4 separate regions of the Homo sapiens genome follow, and all the other regions are linked to region 4. The links are contacts of gene promoters, found by promoter capture Hi-C in human tissues and cell types (Jung and others, 2019). All regions are on one chromosome and are shown on one strand. Each heading gives the region's core, a stretch centred on a gene start or on the middle of the fragment in contact. The rest is flanking DNA. Distances are from core to core; before and after follow the strand shown.

Region 1 (5,084 bases), core at 2,090-4,589, 1.1 Mb after region 4:
TGTATCAAGGAACGGCTTATAAAATTCATCCAAAAGGACTCCCAAGATTCTGGGGGCATCAAATAGCTCACACACAACATTTTGCAAGGAAATGAGTCAGCACTAGGTAGATTCCATTTTTCAAGTAGAGTGCTAGCTTCCTGTCCTACTATCTCCAGTCCTGGGAGGAGAGCCTCAACGGGGAGAGGAAGATTGAAGATTTTCTGGGCATGGTGAGCTTGGGTTTCCTTTGAGCCGTAAGTGTTTATGAAAACAATAAGGAATATTAGATAATATCAAAACATGTTCAAGATGACTTTGCTTTAGGCAAAAACCATGCATTTCTAAAGCTAGCCATGGGCCTCCTAAAAGTTCCTCTTTGTGGTCACTAACCCAAGTTGACTGACCCCAATACATTTAGCAACAAATGATGAGTTTACATTCATGTTCTCAGCACCAAATTCTTTAATCTTTAGCTTTGTAACTTAATAGATATACTGTGAGTCTTATAAATGAAGGAATACAAATAAGAACCAGGTCTATTTGGTATCTGTGATGCACCAGCTCTACAAGAGGGGCTTTTCCAGTAAATAAGATTCAAATTTACCAATATCCTTTAGAGTAGTCAGTCGTTATGAGATGGGCTGTGGAATGAATCTGTCCTAATTCATTCCCGGATCCTCCACCCATGGCTGGGTGACCTAATTTAACCCCTCTGTGCCTCAGTTTTTCGGTCTGTAAAGTGTGGATAAGAAGACCTTCTAGTTCAAATATCAAGTGTCTTAGGCCTGCAAACGAACAACTTTTTAGTAAACTTTTAGAGCAGCCTTCTAAAGCAATCAGGGAGGAGAGGGAAAGATACACAAAACAAGCCAGTTGGATTTTGCCAAAATCAGTTCCTTGTCCCTGTCAACCACCTGGCTTCATGGTCATTCCATGTCCCCTGTTTTCCCAAGGACATAATCAGGGATATAGCTACTTTGTGCCTCACTGCCCCTGGCTGTGGGCTTCCCTGGGGAGATCAAGATAGGCTTTATAAGTCCTTTGCCCCGTCATGAAACAGTACCCTGACTACACACTCAGCCTGGTCTGGTATGAGCACCCACTTCCAGTCTAGACGGCAGCCTAAGAGAGGGGCTAATGCTAGGTTGCACCAGACTGAGCCTCATACTTGTCATGGCTCTGCCCACGGTGATTCCTTTGATCTTGATCCTAGCAAACCACAGTCATCGACAAAGGTAGAATGGATTTCTGCTTCTGAAAAGCTTTGATGGAAACTCCCTTGATTTCCCATTCCCTCCCCAGCCCTTCTGCTCCTTTAGATTTACCTCCAACATTTAGTCCTAAATCCAGCTGTAAATCCAGCCTGAGAGAGCCCATCAAACCGGCATGATTCATGTGCCATCCTGTTTGGATATCTGGGGCCATAGCTGACCCACTTGGGAAAGTACACGGTCATTTTTACTTCGCCAGGCATCCTAATCACAGATTCCAGGCTCAGTATTCTTTGTTTAATTTTCTCTGAGAATTGGCTGGACTGTGATCTGATCCTCAGAGAAAGGCAATCATTTCTAAAGGGTAGATTTTTAGAAAAGTTTGCAATTACAAACAACGAAAAATATATGCAGGCTTTCTGCGGTTATGCTGAAGGAATGTGCAGGACATCCATGCCCCTGTCATCTCAAGGCTCTCTTCTAAAATCAGGACCTGTTTCCAGGGCTCTTTGCAGCAGTGTTTCCCTTTCATTTCTTGTGTGAAGAAAGGAAGTAACTTGAGAAAGCAACTTTTAAGAAACTTGAAACACGTTTACTTGTTTCCCAGGCTTCAGGTTAGGGCTGATGGCTCCACAAAGTAAGTGCAGCCAGATTCATGAAACTCGTAACGTTTTGGAGGTGATGTCTAACTGACCGTCTCATTCTACAAATGAGAGCACTAAAACCTTGGAAAAGCTAAAGCTTGCTGGAGGCCTAAGTGATTTCACAAACAGAGCTTGTCTGGAACTTAGTACTTTTAATTCCTAAGCCAGTGCCTATGCCCTAAGCCAATAGGTAATCCAGTGGGCAGTGGTCCCCAAGGCAGGCCAGGCCTGAGCTACTGATAACCCTCTTTATCCCAGTCCTGTGAAACATCAATTTCAGTTAATGCCAATAGCTTCAGGGGCAGTTTTTCAAAGCCCTCTCTCCAGGACATCAGCCTGGATGCAGAGCACAGAGAAATAAAATAATTTACATAGTTTACTAACTCTAAAACTCAGAACTGAGAAGAGAAAGGGCCAGTTTTTCCATATGCAGACTTCAACCTTCTCAAGACCCAAATGACAGGTAAAAATACACATTCGAATGTCTCTCCTTGCACACACACCGTCAAGACCACTTTGCCTTCCCTCTTTCCCAAAGCGAAAGAATGGATATGCTGGGAGTGTTTGGTAGCCTGCTATCAGAAGAAAATAGAGACATCATCATTTTCCCTTTTTGACATTTTTTTTTCCTGCCAGTAAAAGAGAGAGAAACTTGCTTAGGGATCAAAATATTAGCTGGAGAAAGAATTTACAGGGGTGCTGGCAGCTGGTTGGCTGTAGAGGGAGAAAGCCTGTGGGGTGTGGACCGCCAGTCTCGGAAAAGCGCACTGCAGAGCAGGGTGCAGGAGAACCCAGCAAAGCAGGATTTGACAGGTGCCTGGCTCAGGCTCCCACTGGCCAGGCAATCGTCAGCTCTGTTCTGCTTGGCTCTCTTAAACAACAAGTTAAGAGCCAGCTGCTTTCTGCGCTTGGCTCTGAAATCAGCAGGTCTCTCTGCTCTGTTCAGCGGAGGCATCCCCAGCAGGGAGTTAGTCAGGGTACTGGCTAGAGCCTTCATGCCTCAGAGTAAAGGCTTATGAAGGAGGTAATTACGCAGCTGGAAATGGGCAGGCCCTTAGGGCAAAAGAGAAAGAAAGGAAGGTGATCTTCTCACTTACTTAATGCTTAAAAGAAAAAAAATACCCTATGCCTGTCAAAGAGAAGCATCCTAGTATTAGTGGTGCTATGATCAGAGATCCCCTCTCCCTTACCCATTGTGTGGTTACTAAATCAACACAGGAAGCCTGTCCACAAGACTTCAATGTCAACATTGCCCGCCCCTACCTGACCACCAATTTTGCATTGATTAGCTTCCATGATTCCCTGTCAGGCAATTTAGTTGTTTAGTTGCTGGTTAGTTGTTTCTATTTTCCTGAGCATTCTTCTCAAACCTGTTCCCAATGTTTATACTCTGGAGCTACTGACCACCCTTTCCTTTCCCGAACTCTTCCACTGTCATCAATTCCTCGAGAGGTCAACATTACTGCGGGCAGAAGGAAAGATGGCTGACCCTGGCCCTGGACTTCCTTCCCTCTGACACACTGAATACCCTTCGTCAAAAAACCATAATCCAAACTGCAATGTTGGTGCCTATAAGAGAGCTAGTCCCGCTCTCCTCAGAGAGCCCAGCTTGGAGATTTCTGATGTTGAAGTTACCTGCCAATTAGAATGGCCACATTGCAAAATCCACGTGTATTTTACACAGAACAGCCACTTCAGATCTTCATTCACTCAAGGGCCTGCAGTTGTATCTGTTAAAGGTGTCACAATAAATGAACTCATTAAAGTACCACTCGTTTTTTTGATTTCTTGCAAGGTTAGCAATTAGAAATTTTTTTCCTTAGCTTCAGAAAACGTTCTTTAAACAAAAGCTTGCTTGGAAGAGATAAACTGGCAACTGCTCTGGTTGAGGAAGAAGTAGTGGGGTATTCTGTGCTCTGGCCCTTAGTCCCGTGAAGCATGATTTAGGAAACTAATTTGTCCTAGTGTCTCCCTTTTTTTTTTTTTTTTTTTTTTTTTTTTGAGACGGAGTCTCGCTCTGTCGCCCAGGCTGGAGTGCAGTGGCGCAATCTCTGCTCACTGCAAACTCCGCCTCCTGGGTTCACGCCATTCTCCTGCCTCAGCCTCCCGAGTAGCTGGGACTACAGGCACCCGCCACTACGCCCAGCTAATTTTTTGTATTTTTGGTAGAGATGGGGTTTCACCATATTGGCCAGGATGGTCTCCATCTCCTGACCTCATGATCTGCCCGCCTCGGCCTCCCAAAGTGTTGGGATTACAGGCGTGAGCCACCGCGCCCGACCTAGTGTCTCCCATATTTGAACACTTCTTCCTTTCATGCTTGCCTCTTTGGAATATTCGTTTATTTCATAAAACTTAAGGCTATTTTGACATCTTTTAAAATTGCATCAAACAACTTTACTTTCTCCTCAAGTTATGTTATGATTGTCTGTTGTTACTCAATGCAAAATAGTCATTTCCCATCAAGTTTCTTTTGTTTCCACTCAATGTTTTCTCTCCAACTCACCAGCATTTCCTAGCTGCCATTCTTTCTCTTCCCAATTTGACACTCTTTTCATCCAGCTTGGTCTGGCTTCCAAATCACCCTTTCTTAGTACTTTCATCCTACAACAACATTTAATTTAGTATTTTGTGGTTGAAATGATCCAGAGAGGATCAGAGAATTGGAGTGACTTGCCTAAGATCACACCACTAATATGGCAGAGTAAAGACAGAACTCAAGCTTTTCAACAGCTTGGCTCCCCTTTCTTCCTCTTTTGTTCCTCTACTGGCTCTTTAGTTCTCACTCTGGTCCACATGTGTATAGACCCAGTCAATAGTTTCTATGGATATCCTGACTGCCCCTATAAAATAAGTGGGTTGCATTAGCAATTTCCAATGTCATCTTTCAGCTTCATCTTTCTATGAGGAATGGGAGTGGTTAAGATCATTGACACTGATCAAACCATTCAGGCTTTATTCTAGTAGAGGTAAAACTCTTTTGACAATTCTTAAGTATACAGGTAACTTTCTATTAAACGGTTTCCTCTTGCACATACTTTGGTCTCCAGCCCTAGCCAAAACCCAGGCATGCAGAACTGGCAAACTGCTTGGAGGAAGACCTTCCAAAGATCTCAGAAATTTCAAGAAAGGCTTTTGTGGTATTTCTGGCCCAGCCAGAATCAGGAAGTACCTGATCACTCACAAGGAAACTAGTTTTTGCACAATTTCCAACATCTCCCCCCACAACCCCCACTTCATCCTAAAG
Region 2 (4,472 bases), core at 1,030-3,529, 1.8 Mb after region 4:
AAACCTTCATTTCTAACAGCTCCCAGGTTGATGCTGCTCAGGGGCCAGTGGCAAGGCTGCAGTAGACATGATTTTTGTCTGCCCAGCATCCCATTTTTTTTTTTTTTGGAGAACTCACTCCTCTCCTATTCTACAGAAAGCCCACTCAGCCTGTGTGGTTTGTTTGAGGCTGGTTCCACCTCCCCAAGAGTGGGCACGTGCCTCCAGCCAGGCTGTGAGAAGCCTTCCCAGGACATTGCAGAACAAATCATTGTCTCCAACTGTGCGGTTTTATTGGGCTGGAGCTGCTGTAGGTCATCCTTTCCACCAGGTGGGGCCAGCCCGAGAATGATGCCACCACAGAGGAGAAGAGAGCCAAAGATGGCAGGAAAGAGGCAGGTCTTGGGTGAATCTCTGGATCCAGCCATGCCTCCAGACTTCCCAGCTATGGCCAATAAATTCCTTTTCTTCCTGAGCTAGTTTGAAATGGGTCTCTTCATTTGCAATGAACATTCTTTCTGATTTCACTCTTGATCTAATGAAAGATGAGGATGGAAGCTGATTTCCAAGTGGAGAAGCTCCCTGCCCCCATTCTAAGGTCCACCATTCCCAGAAGCCTGCCCAAGCCCTCACATCAGCAGTGAGCCCCCTGCACTGAAGCCCATCCCTCTTGCTGCTTAGTCCCCTTGTTTGGAACTTTTCATTTACACCAATAACAAATCATAACCCCACTTACATAGCATTTTCCAGTTTCAAAACCTTTTTCAAATATATAGTCCAGACAAGAGCTAAGCTGCCTGGGTTTAAATTTCATCTTCGCCACTTCTTTTTAATTTTTTTAATGTTTGCAGCTACATAGTAGGTCCATATATTTATGGGGTACATGAGATGTTTTGATAAAGGCATGCAATGTATAATAATTACATCATAGATAATGGAGTATCTGTCCCCTCAAGCATTTATCTTTTGTATTACAAACAATTCAATTATACCCTTTTAGTTATTTTTAAATGTACAATTAAATTATTATTGGCTATAGCCAGCCTGACACTTCTTAGCTATACAACGTTGAGCTGGTTACTTGGCTTCTCTGTGCCTGCACTGCCTCATTTGTAAAATGGGGATAATTGTGACTCCTGATTCATGGGGCTGCCACTGTGTTTGGTTAGTTAATATGTGTTACAATCTTTGAACAGTTCCCAGCTCATGGTAAGGTCTATGCAAATGCCACTATTACTATAACTATCAGTATTGTTATTATTTTATCCCCAAAATAAGCCCTCAATATCAGCATTATTTTTATCCTCATTCCTATTTTGTCGATGAGCAGACTAAAAATGATGGTGTGACAAACTCATATAGTGAACAATATCACTGAGATAATTTCAAGTCATCTGAGTCTATATTCCTAACAACAATCTTCCCCAAGCTGTAATATGTAGACTCTTATTATGCTGTCTTGTGTTATTTTATTATTTTATTGCTATACCAATTTAAATGTGTATGTCCTCTTGTTAGCTAAATTATAATCTCCTTAACACTAGGAACTCTGATAAACACATCTTTAACTTGGAGCCAACCCAAATGCCTGTGAATGACAGGCTGGATAAAGAAAATATGGCACATGTACACCATGGAATACTATGCAGCCATAAAAAAGAGTTCATGTCCTTTGCAGGGACATGGATGAAGCTGGAAGCTATCATTCTCAGCAAACTAACAAGGAACAGAAAACCAAACACCCCATGTTCTCACTCATAAATGGAAGTTGAAGAATGAGAACACATGGACACAGGGAGGGGGACATCACACACCGGGGCCTGCTGGGGGCTGGGGGACAAAGGGAGGGAGAGCATTAAGACAAATACCTAATGCATGTGGGGCTCAAAGCCTCGATGATGGATTGGTGGGTGCAGCAAACCACCATGGCACATGTATACCTATGTAACAAACCTGCACATTCTGTACGTGTATCCCAGAACTTAAAGTAAAATTTAAAAAAAAAAAATCTTTAAAATTCCTTAGCAAGTACCATGATAACACTAGAGAGTAAACAGATACCCACTGACTGGTAATATTTAATAGGATAGAAATATGTGTACATTAATCCTTTAAATAGAGCAGTTTACAAAACAATAAAAACATGACACTCCATTATTGCCAAAAATACTTTTCTATGTATGTTTGTCTACATGTAGACAGGAAAAAATAACTGAAAGAACTTATATCAAAATATTAGCAAGGTTATCATTTCTGGGTAGGGAGCAATGGATAACTTGTTTCTGCATGTCAGGGACTTTAATTAAGAGGCTTCCAAAGACTCAACAACTGGGAAGTGTGGGGTGTGAGGTTTCTTTGACCTCCACCCTCCCCAGTGCTACCTGAGGGCTGTCTGGGTCCCAGCAATCACCTTACCTGGGAAGACTGAGGGAATCTTCTTGAAGCTAGAGTCTGTATTTGTTCATAACCTCCACATATGCCCACCTGCCCCAGTGTCTCTCGGTTGAGTCCTAAGCTGCTGGACTGAACGCCCCACCTTCCAGACATGTCATAAAACTGCCTTTTGTTTCCCTTTGGTGTCTTCTCAGTAAAGGACGGTCAGAGGGCCATAGAAACAGCTTAGGGTTCCTTTGGGAGCTCTCCCAAAAAGTGAGTAGAAGAATACAGGTGGTCCCCTGAGGAGAGGGGAATGGGTTTCCACACAGGGCTCTCTCATTGGGCATTCTTAATCTTCCACCACCAACACACCAGTTTTTTGTTTGTTTGTTTGTCTTGAGACAGGGTCTCACTCTGTCTCCCAGGCTAGAGTGCAATGGTGCCATCACAGCTCACTGCAGCCTTGTCCTCCCTGGACCAAGCGATCCTCCTGCCTCAGCCTCCCAGATAGCTGGGACTACAGGGGTGCACCACTGTGCCAGGCTAATTTTTTTTATTTTTTGTAGAGATGGAGGTCTCACTACATCACTTAAGCTGGTCTTGAATTCCTGGGCTCAACTGATCCTCCCAACGCAGCCTCCCAAAGCGCTGGGATTACAGGCATAAGCCACTACACCCAGCCAACATGCATCTTATAATACAAGAAAATACATTTTAAAAGCAAATACTTATTTAATATTTGCTTTAAAACGTTGTCAGGCAGGTTGTAGGTGCTCATTTGTAGATAGTTAGAAAATATCCTCCGAATTGTTTGACTGTCTCCATCCTGCCAAGCTTAGAGGTGTTGAGAATATTCTTTTCCTAGTATTTGTTTCCTATATACTAGTATTTCTTATATCTTTTCCTGGTATTTGTACGTATTTCTTTGGGAGTCCTTAAAATTCAATCAACTCTAAATTATCAATTCTGGATCCTTCAGTCTACAAAACCTCTCTGTTTCCTGGGATGATTTTCTGCCTCTGCTAGAACAGCTCCAAGAATCTGCAAAAATAGTACTTAAGGTCTCAATTTCTTTTTTTTTTTTTTTGAGACCAAGTCTCACTCTGTCGCCCAGGCTGAAGTGCAGTGGTGCAAACTCAGCTCACTGCAGCCTCCACCTCTGGCTTGAATTTTCCCAGGAGTGAGAAGTCTCCTGGGAGAATTCAAGCGATTCTCCTGCCTCAACCTCCCGAGTAGCTGGGACTACAGGCACTCTCCACTATGCCCGCTAATTTTTGTATTTTTTTAGTAGAGTCTGGGTTTCACCATGTTGGCCAGGCTGGTCTCAAACTCCTGACTTCAAGTGATCCTCCTGCCTTGGCCTCCCAAAGTGCTGGGATTACAGGCATGAACCACTGCGCCTGGTCCTTAACTTCTTTTTAAAAATGATTTTCCTTAAACATTTCAATGAGTCAAAACTCAGAAAATGACAGAGTGATTCTGCCCTCTTTATCATTTAGCAAAAATTTGTTTTGTGCCTACTGGGTAACGGGCTCTGAGGATAAAGTGAGGAATTGAAACATACACTCTTCGTGCCCTCCAGGATTTTAGAATCTAGTGGACATAAATCCCACTCATCTCCGGAAGTGATGTTCTTTTTCTCCAACCCAGTTATCTTTCTATGCTAAGTGCTTTGTACATTTTCCAAAATCAATGCTTTCAAGCACAACAAACAGAGAGGGATTTCAGGAAAAAGGACATTAGGAGAGAGGGAGAAGAAGCCTCACATTTTATCTTCCTAAGTATTGGTTTAATGTCTGCTTTCACACATGTATGGCAAAGTTCATGAGGGCAGTCTGTCATTTTATCCCCACTTTTATCCATCACTTTTATCTCCAGCACCTAAAAAGTGTTTGGCACTTAGAAGACACTCAGCAAATATTGATTGATTGAACAAATCAGCGAATGAGCCTAGGAATATTGCTAGGCAGGCCAGAGGTGTTCATTTGTGGATAGTTAGGTAGATGAACAGGTAATACAACAGATAAGTGGATAAACGCAGAGATGGGTGAATTGTGAATGGGAGAGTAGAAGGGTAAATAGGGCAATGGGTGGGTGAATGGGTAGGTGAGTTAGAT
Region 3 (4,590 bases), core at 701-3,200, 1.1 Mb after region 4:
TAGTGGATATATATTCTCACATTTAGCTGAGGTCCTATCCATGGACACAGTCTTTTAAATTGCAGAGTTTAAATTAAACATAGATAATTGGTTTTTAATTCAAAAGATAATTAAATACTGAGCAGGCTATGTTAAATAAGGTTATAACATTTCAGGCTGGGCTCTTTTAAAGTAAAACAAAAAGCATCAGACATAGGAGACAACCAACCAGTAGTTGATTTCACCCCTAGAGATGCTTTCACCTCTGTATATTTAGTCTGCAACTCAAAACTCATATCTGGATGTAGCTATTAACAGTTTCAGTATTGTGTTTTTCTAATGTTAAGCAGAAAATATGTATGCATACATTATAAGTAGTAACATAAATATTTTCATATTAAAGGTATTGTGTATATACGCCCCAACTAGGAGTAAACACTCATCTGTAGAAGAAACTTAGCAAGGTAACCTCCTCTCCCTCACTTTGTTTTCAAGTGAAGAAGCTAAAATAAAGACATTTTGCACAAAAAGGCATAAGTAAAGCTAGGTATCATGACTACCGTTTTCCCAGTTTGCAGTACTTATTCCATTAGACTCTCTCTATCCAGCATGTAGTCTGCAGACCGACAGCAGCAACATGTCTTGGGGACTTGTTGAAAACATGTAATCTGAGGTCCTATCTCAAACCTACCAAATCCATATTTAAAAAAATTCACCAGGGGATTCATAGGCTGATTGGAGTTTGAGAAGCACTGCTTTATGCTCCACACAATCTAACTGAATTACTACATTTTCCTAGAAGTTGGAGAATAATGCAATCAAAATGTCTCAACTCTCTGAATAGAAATATTACAGAAATTCAAGTTAATGCCAGAAATATACATTTGCATCAAATTTAACTCAGGTGCTGACTTTAAAACGTTACCCTCCATCCAATGAGACTCCACAAATTCTCTTAATCCTCATGAACAAGCAATCAATTAACATAAATTAACATTTGAATGCTTACTATTTTAAAAAGTAAGTAAACCCCAGAAAGATAAGAAGACACAATTAGCCTCACCCACCCGTTCCCTTTTCACCCCTAGGAAAATGCTAGGACACAGATGGTTTCCCGGTGTCTGCATGAAGGTTAATTCTTTGATTCCTTCTTTTGGTCTGGTGTAAGTGTTCTTTAAGCTTTTGTGAAGATCATTGTTATATTAAATACACACCCACACATATTCTTTAGAAATGACGTAAGAGATTTTTCAATGGCCATTTTTTACCATTCTCTATTTTTACTCTAAAAATACACTTGAGAATGTATCCCCACGTAAGCTGCTTACATTTTTTAAAAATGGTCTAAATACTTGTTGGGTTCACTAGTACTTTCTTCTGACACGTTTTGCAGATTGATTTGTGTCAGAGAGCCATAGTTTAGAAACATTGACTCAATAATGAGTCCCTATCATCGATGGCACTAAAAGGGTACAAACTAATCATATAACTCAATGCAGTAGGCAAGTGAGTATGAATGTTTAAACAGTTATTATCAGGGTTGGAGAGGAGGTGGGGATGTTGAAGAAGAAAGAATAAAAAAGTGGTGTGAGAAAGCGAAGTATTACTGGAATGTTGAGACTGCAAATGAAACCCACAGAAGTCAGGAAATTCAAGAGTTAAGGCTCCCGTTGCTCCCTTAATTCAGCCCCTGTTGTTGGGCATACACATTGTGTTTGTATCTTTTATTACCAGATCCCATAACACTTAGCAACACAGCCCACTTAGGACGGTGATGAAGCAGCATATGGCTCCTTATGAAATGAGCTTTAAATATATCCAAAGGTTAACAACTAGTATAACAAGGTACTTTTTCCTATAAAAGTTTAATGTTAATTATAAAATCGGATAACATTGTTATGGTGTGAAATATGTAATACACAAGGCAACACTCCCCTGGGGCATAGTTGGTGTGCGCTGTGTTCACAGTGGAATTCTCCCAGCTTTAGCGTATAAAAGTGAAAATAATTCTTTCTCCCTGGGAAATAGATGAAAATTAGTTAATGTAGCAAAACTTCAGAATCTTTACTTTGCTGGCCTGGCACGGTGGCTCACGTCTGTAATCCTAACACTTTGGGACGCCAAGGTGGGCAGATCACTTGAGCCCAAGAGTTCAAGATCAGCCTGGGCAACAAGGGGAAACCTGTCTCTACTAAAAAATACAAAAATTAGCCAGGCATGGTGGCAGGAGTCTGTAACCCCAGCTACTTGGGAGGCTGAGGCAGGAGAATCACTTGAACCCGGGAGGTGGAGGTTGCAGTGAGCCAAGATCGTGTCAGTGCACTTTAGCCTGGGTGACAGAGTGAGGCTCCATCTCAAAAAAATAAATAAATAAAAAATAAAAATAAATGAAATTAAAAAAAGAATATCTGCTTTATATAAAAATAATAAATTTCAGAGGCTGTCAACTACAGCTAAATAGCCATATATTAGCAAACCAATGAGGGGCAGGAGATGCAGCATTAACAAATGATTTCGTCCCCCCCACCAAAGACAACATTTCTGACTGATTTTGGAAAGCTGTGTATAGTATTATCTCCCTTCATATTTATCATCCTAATGATGTTTCTTCTTGTCAAGAAAATACCTCCCTGAACAAATTCCAGGTAGAAAACATCAGCCCAAGAGTGTGTCCATTTGGAGGGTAAAAACAAAGCATGGTAGGAAAAACATTACAAAAATCATCTGTAAAATGTGGTTACTAAGTCATTGCTAAAGCTCTTGGCTGGCTGAAGTTTGAAGACTAAATTAACCCTTCCAGGAGTGTCTACATAATTTGTGGAGACCAATGCAAAATGAAAATACGGGACAATTGTTAAAAAATTGTTAAGAATTTCAAGACAATGACACTGGAGCAGGAAAGCAAACAGGAGCATTTCTAAGCACAGGGCCCTGTGGGATGCAAAGTCACAGTTGGATTATTTGATTAAGCCAACTTCTCTCCTCTGCCTTGCTTCTGGCAATCATTACTTCTGTTATTCTTATTCATTGTGTTTCATCCTTAATTGTCCAACTAGCCTGTAAACTTTTGTGGGTGGAGACCCTGGAAAGAACATGGACTCTGCAACCAGATGAGTCTTTCTTAGATTCCCAGCCTCTCTCACTTCTTATTTTAATCACACTACTTAATTTCTCCTAGACTTAGTTCTTTCACCTGTAAAACAAGAATAATGTAGTACCTTCAGGATAGAAGTGCTATGCAGATAAAGTAATTCACAGTGCTTGGCCCATTCTAAGTACTCAAAAATAGTAGCTATTCTTATTATCTCATCTTAAGGTTGTTGTGAGAATAACAGGAAGACATTGGAAAGAACTTAAGTGTCCGACAATATGAGATTAGATAAAAACAGGGTAAGTTCAAACAATGGCATATTATAACTGCCGAGGTGGATCTCTAAGTCGGCTTGAAGCAATCAATGACAGCACTACCTAAAGATAGTACACCACCCCGCAGCACAGCAGCACCTGAGAGCTACTCAGGAATGCAAATTCGGAGACCCCACCCCAGACCTACTAAATCAGGAGCTCTGTGGATCATCTGAAGTGCACGGAGTCCTCCAGGGAATTCAATGTGCTCTCAAGTTTAAGAACCATTGCTCTACTACATGAGTTGGGTCTGTGAACAGATAAAAAACATCTATGAGGGGAGAGGAGGAAAACGAAAAAAGTAAAAAAAAAGAACGCCTTCTAAGCTATATTTTTATTAAATTACAAAAGCAAGGTACAGAGGAGTTCCCTAATAGATTTCAAGCCTAGAGATTTTCCTAAATTGAGGCTTATTTCTCCATCCAGGCAGACATTAATGACGGTGCTCCTTAGGCCAGTGTTGGAGAAATCATGGTGACTCCTAAGACTTTTTATCCATTTTGCCTTTGGAAAGAGAGAAAGAGATAGAAATTTTCCTTTTTTCTTTTTTTACTTTCTGTACTGTTGGAAGTTTTTTAACCACACGCATACATATATATATACTCTATAAACACATATTACTCTTTTCATGTGGTTTTTAAAAAATATTTTTGAATACGTTATTTCTGAATATTGTATTCAATAACATCATATTAAGTAATATCTTATTTTTCAATGAATATTTTAAAGTAAGCACACCCAATCTAACTGTGGAAAAAAGCACGGCTCTGGTTAATCAGAATGAGGCCAGTATAAAAGGCATTTGAAAGTCAGGCAGAATCGTGAAGGCTGTTCTTCTAGAAGCAGAGAACAACCACAATCTGTGGATTTACAACCAATGGAGCTGAGCAAACCCTTTTTGCCTGGGGAAATCCTGACAGCAGGGCCTCTAATTTCATGAAATAAGCCAGGTTGACCTCGAAAACTGTTGGCAAGGAAATGACACAGGAGTGAGGGCACTTCACACAATTCTCTCCTTGGGTTTTCATTCTTTTAGGGTTGGTTTCCATGGAAATCTACACCTGCCAGTTCCCTGGGGTCTTTAAGCCTGAGGACTTTGAGGAATCAAGGAGGAAAAAAAGTGGGGACAATGCAGATTTTATAGGCTTAATTCACTTAGTGTTTTTTTATGGAGTTTTCAGAAGCTCAATTGTGAGGCTGCAGAGA
Region 4 (4,730 bases), core at 363-2,862:
AGGCGTGGTGGACATGCCTGTAGTCCCAGTTACTTGGGAGGCTGAGGCAGAATAATCTCTTGAACCTGGGAGGTAGAGGCTGCAATGAGCCGAGATCACACCACTGCACTCCAGCCTGGGAGACAGAGAAAGACTCCATCTCAAAAAGAAAAAAAAAAAGAATTAATGGTAAACCTAAATGCCCATTAAGAGACAAATGGATAAGGGAAATGTATAGATATACACACAATGAAATATTATTCAGCCTTATAAGAGAAGGGAATCCTGTCATTTGCAGTAGAACCCAGAGAACATTATGCTAAGTGAAATAAGCCAGGCACAAAAGGGAAATTATTGCATTATTTCACTTATAGGTGGGATTTTGTTTTAAAAAAGACTTCAAATGCACAGAGCTAGAGAATGAAACAGTGAATACCACTAGTGGGAAGCAGGGAAGAGGAAAAGGGGTGATATAGGTCAAAGGATACAAAATAGTAGACACGTAGGATACATAAATCTACAACAGGGTCCCTAACCTTTTCGGCACCAGGGACAAGTTTTGTGGAATACAATTTTTCCATGGGCAGTGGGGGTAGGTGGATGGTTTTGGAATGAAACTGTTCCACCTCAGATCATCAGGCATTAGATTCTCATAAGGAGTGGCGCAACCTAGATCCCTCGCATGTGCAGTTCACAATAGGAGGCGGAGCTCAGTCTGTAAAGCTTGCTCACCGGCTGCTCACCTCCTGCTGTGCAGCTTGGTTCCTAACAGGCCACGGACCAGTACCAGTCCATGCTGGGGAGTTTGGGACCCCTGGTCTAGAGAGCAAACGTGCAAAATGAGGACTAAAGTTAATAAAATTGTATCATATTAGGAATTTTTGTTAAATAAGTTGATTTTAGCTGTTCTTGTCATACACACAAAAAAGTAATTACGGGTGAGATGATACATATATTATATTGGCCTCCCTACTGTAACCATTTTTCTGTGTATATGTATCTCATAATATCATGTTGTAAACCTCAAATATACAGAATGAATAAAACAATTAGCTGTCAATTTGGCCTTAATGTTCCATGTTAAAGCCAAATGTCTATGTTTGTAATCAGCTAAATTTTATATTGTGCAGAAGCCCTGAATTTCACGGATGCCCCATATTTCATGGATGCCCCGTTCAGTTCATAAGCTCTTGTTTACATGATTTGTGCATGATCCAAATGTGGAAAGAAAATGAGTGGGCAGCCTATTCTGGGTATCAAGCAAAGAGCACAGGCACAGACCATGTGCAATAAGCAGCCTTAGGCAAAACTGAACCAAGAGTGGTTTCATACAGGTATTCCTCTAAGTCTTTAATTTTTTACTTATTCCTTTCCCCTTTTTAATGTGATAGACACCTAATCACCTTCTGCTGCCTTCCCAACCTCAACTTTGGTGTTCTTTGGCAGATAGTGACTTCGGTGTTCTTTGGCAGATAGCCTACAAATGAAATTTCAAAGGCTAAGCATATAATGTTTGCTCACTTGATGTAAGCAACAGAGAACTAAATCTGAACTTTGGCAAAAGTCTATTAATAATTGACAAATAACAGAACAGTGAGGATGTAGAAAGCAATACATTAAAAAAAAAAAAACAACGAACTCCATCTGGGATAGCAATAACCTGTGAAAATGCTCCCCCGGCTAATTTGTATCAATGATTATGAACAACATGCTAAATCAGTACTTCCAAAGTCTATATATGACTATTACAGGTCTGGGGCAAATGATGAAGAAACTTTGGCTGATAATATTGCAGCATTTTCCAGGTAAGAAAATTTATTTTTTAAAATCATGTTTTAAAATTACACAAAGACCGTACCAAAATAAGATCTCCTAGTTTTACGTTGGTGGTGTGTAATTATTTGTTCAGATTTGTGCTTAGTAGAGAGGGAAAAGTTCTTGGGGCTGTAAGAAATCTTGGGCCTTTAAATTGTTAAAAAATATTCCAAGCCTGTGAATCTTGAGGAACTGACTGCAAAAGCCAAACCTATGTTACTTCACTTGGAAATATGACAACAATTAATTTAACTACATGTAAAAATAGCGATAAATTCGGATGACTTTTCTTTTTCTTAGTATGACAGTAAATGCTTATGTTCATGGTGTAGGAAACAGCATTAAATGCCAGATAACCATCTTATCCGGATGAACCAGACTGGATTGTTGGCTCAAATGTTTTCTTCCTGCTGGCTTTTCGTGTTATCATTCATTTTGATTACTGTTGTCTAAACTTTCACTTTAGATTTCAATTTGTCTATGCAGCATTAATCTTTCAACTTTGCTGTTTCATCTCTCCTTCAAAGCACTTCATCTCTCTTCCCAAATTAGTTTTCCTTTGACTTTCATATTTCAAAGCACAAGATGGTGGGTGACATGGTTTATGTTTTCTGTTTGTAATAAAAACAAGAAATAAAATCATTTCAAAGGGTTTTTTTTTATAGCAGTTACAAAAATGGTTTATTTGCTGGAGCAAGAGAGGAGTGCCTTCACTACACTACACTCAGTCTCATCCATCTAACATTATGGCTGTTAGTAAAGGCAATCGGTATTGTGGGTACTCATTGATGGTGATAAAGACAAAAAGGCAGAAAATATGCAGGGGGAGAGAATTAGCCTTCCTCCCTGATTTCTTCTTTAGTCTACAACAAAATCACTCAAAATCAGTTTTCCATATTTAAATTAGGAGAAATAAAATTATCCTGGCCAAGGTGGTCTCTGGTAGGCAGCACTGATTCACCCACAAATCCATGTAGAAGACTGAAAATGGCAATGGGGTGAAGGATACGGCCTCTCCCCAACCCTTTCAAGCCTTGACTTTGTCTCAGGTTTTGCCTGGAACCCAAATGAGCTCAACAAATGCCAGGGAAGTCATGGGAAGGGAAGTTGACTGAGAGTAGAGGGGCTTAAAATTCTGCATCATTATTTACTATTTTGGACTCATTTAAAAGTTTCTGCTCTTGGAAGATGCCCCTTCTTGGGCCGATATTAACTTTGTCCACCAAAATTTGCCTATGAGTGGTCTCTTGAAAACACTTTAACCCAAATAGGTTATTACAACCAAGGAAATTTCAGACCCTTGACAGATTTATAGAGTTAGTGTCTCAGCATTGCTAGACCTCCAATGCTCAAGTGATTATTTATTTCATTTGTATACAGCTTTCCTTACTTCTTAATTCCCTTTGTCGCATGCTAGCTAATTAACTAGAGCTAATTAGGAGTCTCCATGAGCTACACTGTGTACTACATGCTGAGGACAAAGCAGTGAGCCAGACAAAGTTCCTGTCCCTAGGAACTTACATTCCCCTGGATGCATATCAGCCTCCATAATGCTGTTGGGTTGAATTGATGCAAAATGGGCCCAAAATAGTTGGCCAAGTGGAGGTCTCAGAGAGGATGCAAAGGGGCGCCCCAAAGCAGATGGATCACCTATGCAACCCTTTAAAATGTAGAAACTTTGGGAGACATAGAAGGCTTGGTGACTTCTAAGTTATGAACTGGAAAAGTGCCTCATGCCTTATGTGAATTACATGGTATTCAAGTGAGTATTCCCATCCTATGTGTGTACCGAGTAACTTAGGGATAGGACACAGATAATGAAAATGAATTTGCAGTGTCACCTTTTCCATGAACCTTGATCATTCTCTTTTGTTCAGCTTTAAATTAAAAAAAAAAATCAATCAACTTTCTTTGGAGGACAGCTGATGCTATTTTATTATCAACTAGTTGAGTTTTTATTGCAATACATTTTGCAATGTGTCCTCTTTTGCTGTATGACTCGCTAGGTGAACCTTGATTCCTCACACTGCATCATGTAGCTGGTCACGTGAAACTAAGAATAGAAATTCTGCCAGGGTTGTGGAGACTTTGGGTTGATGGCATGAAGGAAATCAACCTGAAATTTCACATTCTGATTCTAATGAAAAGTGCAAAACAATCAAACCTCAGATAACCCATTGTGATACAAAGCCAGAGTATTTCAAACACATTTATGAAATTTATACACCTCCCCATCTCGCAAGTACAACAAAAGGTCATTCACCGTGACAGCTTTTATTTCTCTGTACTCAGCTCTGATAATCACATTTTGGAGTTCTGGGGACATGGACCACTCATGTGACCCAGCAGTTGCTTGGAGATATTTTTGGGTAAGACTTCAGACTAATATTACTGTGGCAGTAGAAAAAAATGTTTAAAAGGACAAGTAAATGGAACCACCCAGAACAAAATTTCTTACGGTGGTTATAACAAAACAGGGTAAATGTCAACTTGCTACATTTTGCATGGCTGGAATTGATTGGGATTAATTCAACGAAGAACAGTAATTTGTTTCTCTTACACATTTATTCAAAGTAGCCTTCTCAACTATGGTCTTCACGTTGTTGTAGCTTTTTTTTCTGAAATTATCAATGATGGAAGATGATTAAACAATTTCGACACTTAGAAGCCCTCATGATTTCAGAAAAGGAAACTCTTTTCTGCTGCGTTACCTATTGAGACTGAAGATGGCATCATTTTCTTTTAAATAACAGATGGGTAAAAGTGATGTCATTCTTTCACTTTAATATTTGAGAAGTGATATGAAGTTACCAGTGACATTGTGTTCTCATAGGCATAAATGTCACAAAATAATTTATCTAGTATCCACAATAGGTGAATAAGGTGTTTTTGCTTTATATATTTTAACTGTTTAGAGTAAAAAATTAATGTGGAGA

What was found. Contacts are between HindIII fragments. The study calls those that stand out against the background at their distance.
Region 1: a fragment that was not itself captured here is called in contact with the fragment with the promoter of HAO1 in region 4 in 1 of the 25 tissues and cell types used here (dorsolateral prefrontal cortex).
Region 2: a fragment that was not itself captured here is called in contact with the fragment with the promoter of HAO1 in region 4 in 1 of the 25 tissues and cell types used here (lymphoblastoid cells).
Region 3: a fragment that was not itself captured here is called in contact with the fragment with the promoter of HAO1 in region 4 in 1 of the 25 tissues and cell types used here (dorsolateral prefrontal cortex).

Annotation. Positions count from the first base shown.
Region 1 is chr20:6,884,214-6,889,297 of GRCh38, reverse strand. No RefSeq gene overlaps it. Among named protein-coding and RNA genes, the nearest start is that of BMP2, 120 kb to the right of the region's middle. The HindIII fragment of the contact is 3,499 bases long and covers 1,590-5,084 here.
Region 2 is chr20:6,136,999-6,141,470 of GRCh38, reverse strand. No RefSeq gene overlaps it. Among named protein-coding and RNA genes, the nearest start is that of FERMT1, 16 kb to the right of the region's middle. The HindIII fragment of the contact is 8,301 bases long and covers 1-4,472 here.
Region 3 is chr20:6,811,607-6,816,196 of GRCh38, reverse strand. No RefSeq gene overlaps it. Among named protein-coding and RNA genes, the nearest start is that of BMP2, 46 kb to the right of the region's middle. The HindIII fragment of the contact is 3,349 bases long and covers 276-3,624 here.
Region 4 is chr20:7,937,340-7,942,069 of GRCh38, reverse strand. It overlaps HAO1 (hydroxyacid oxidase 1), which reads left to right and starts at 1,612. Exons shown (of 8, transcript NM_017545.3): 1 at 1,612-1,784. The coding sequence starts at 1,648. The HindIII fragment of the contact is 11,188 bases long and covers 1-4,730 here.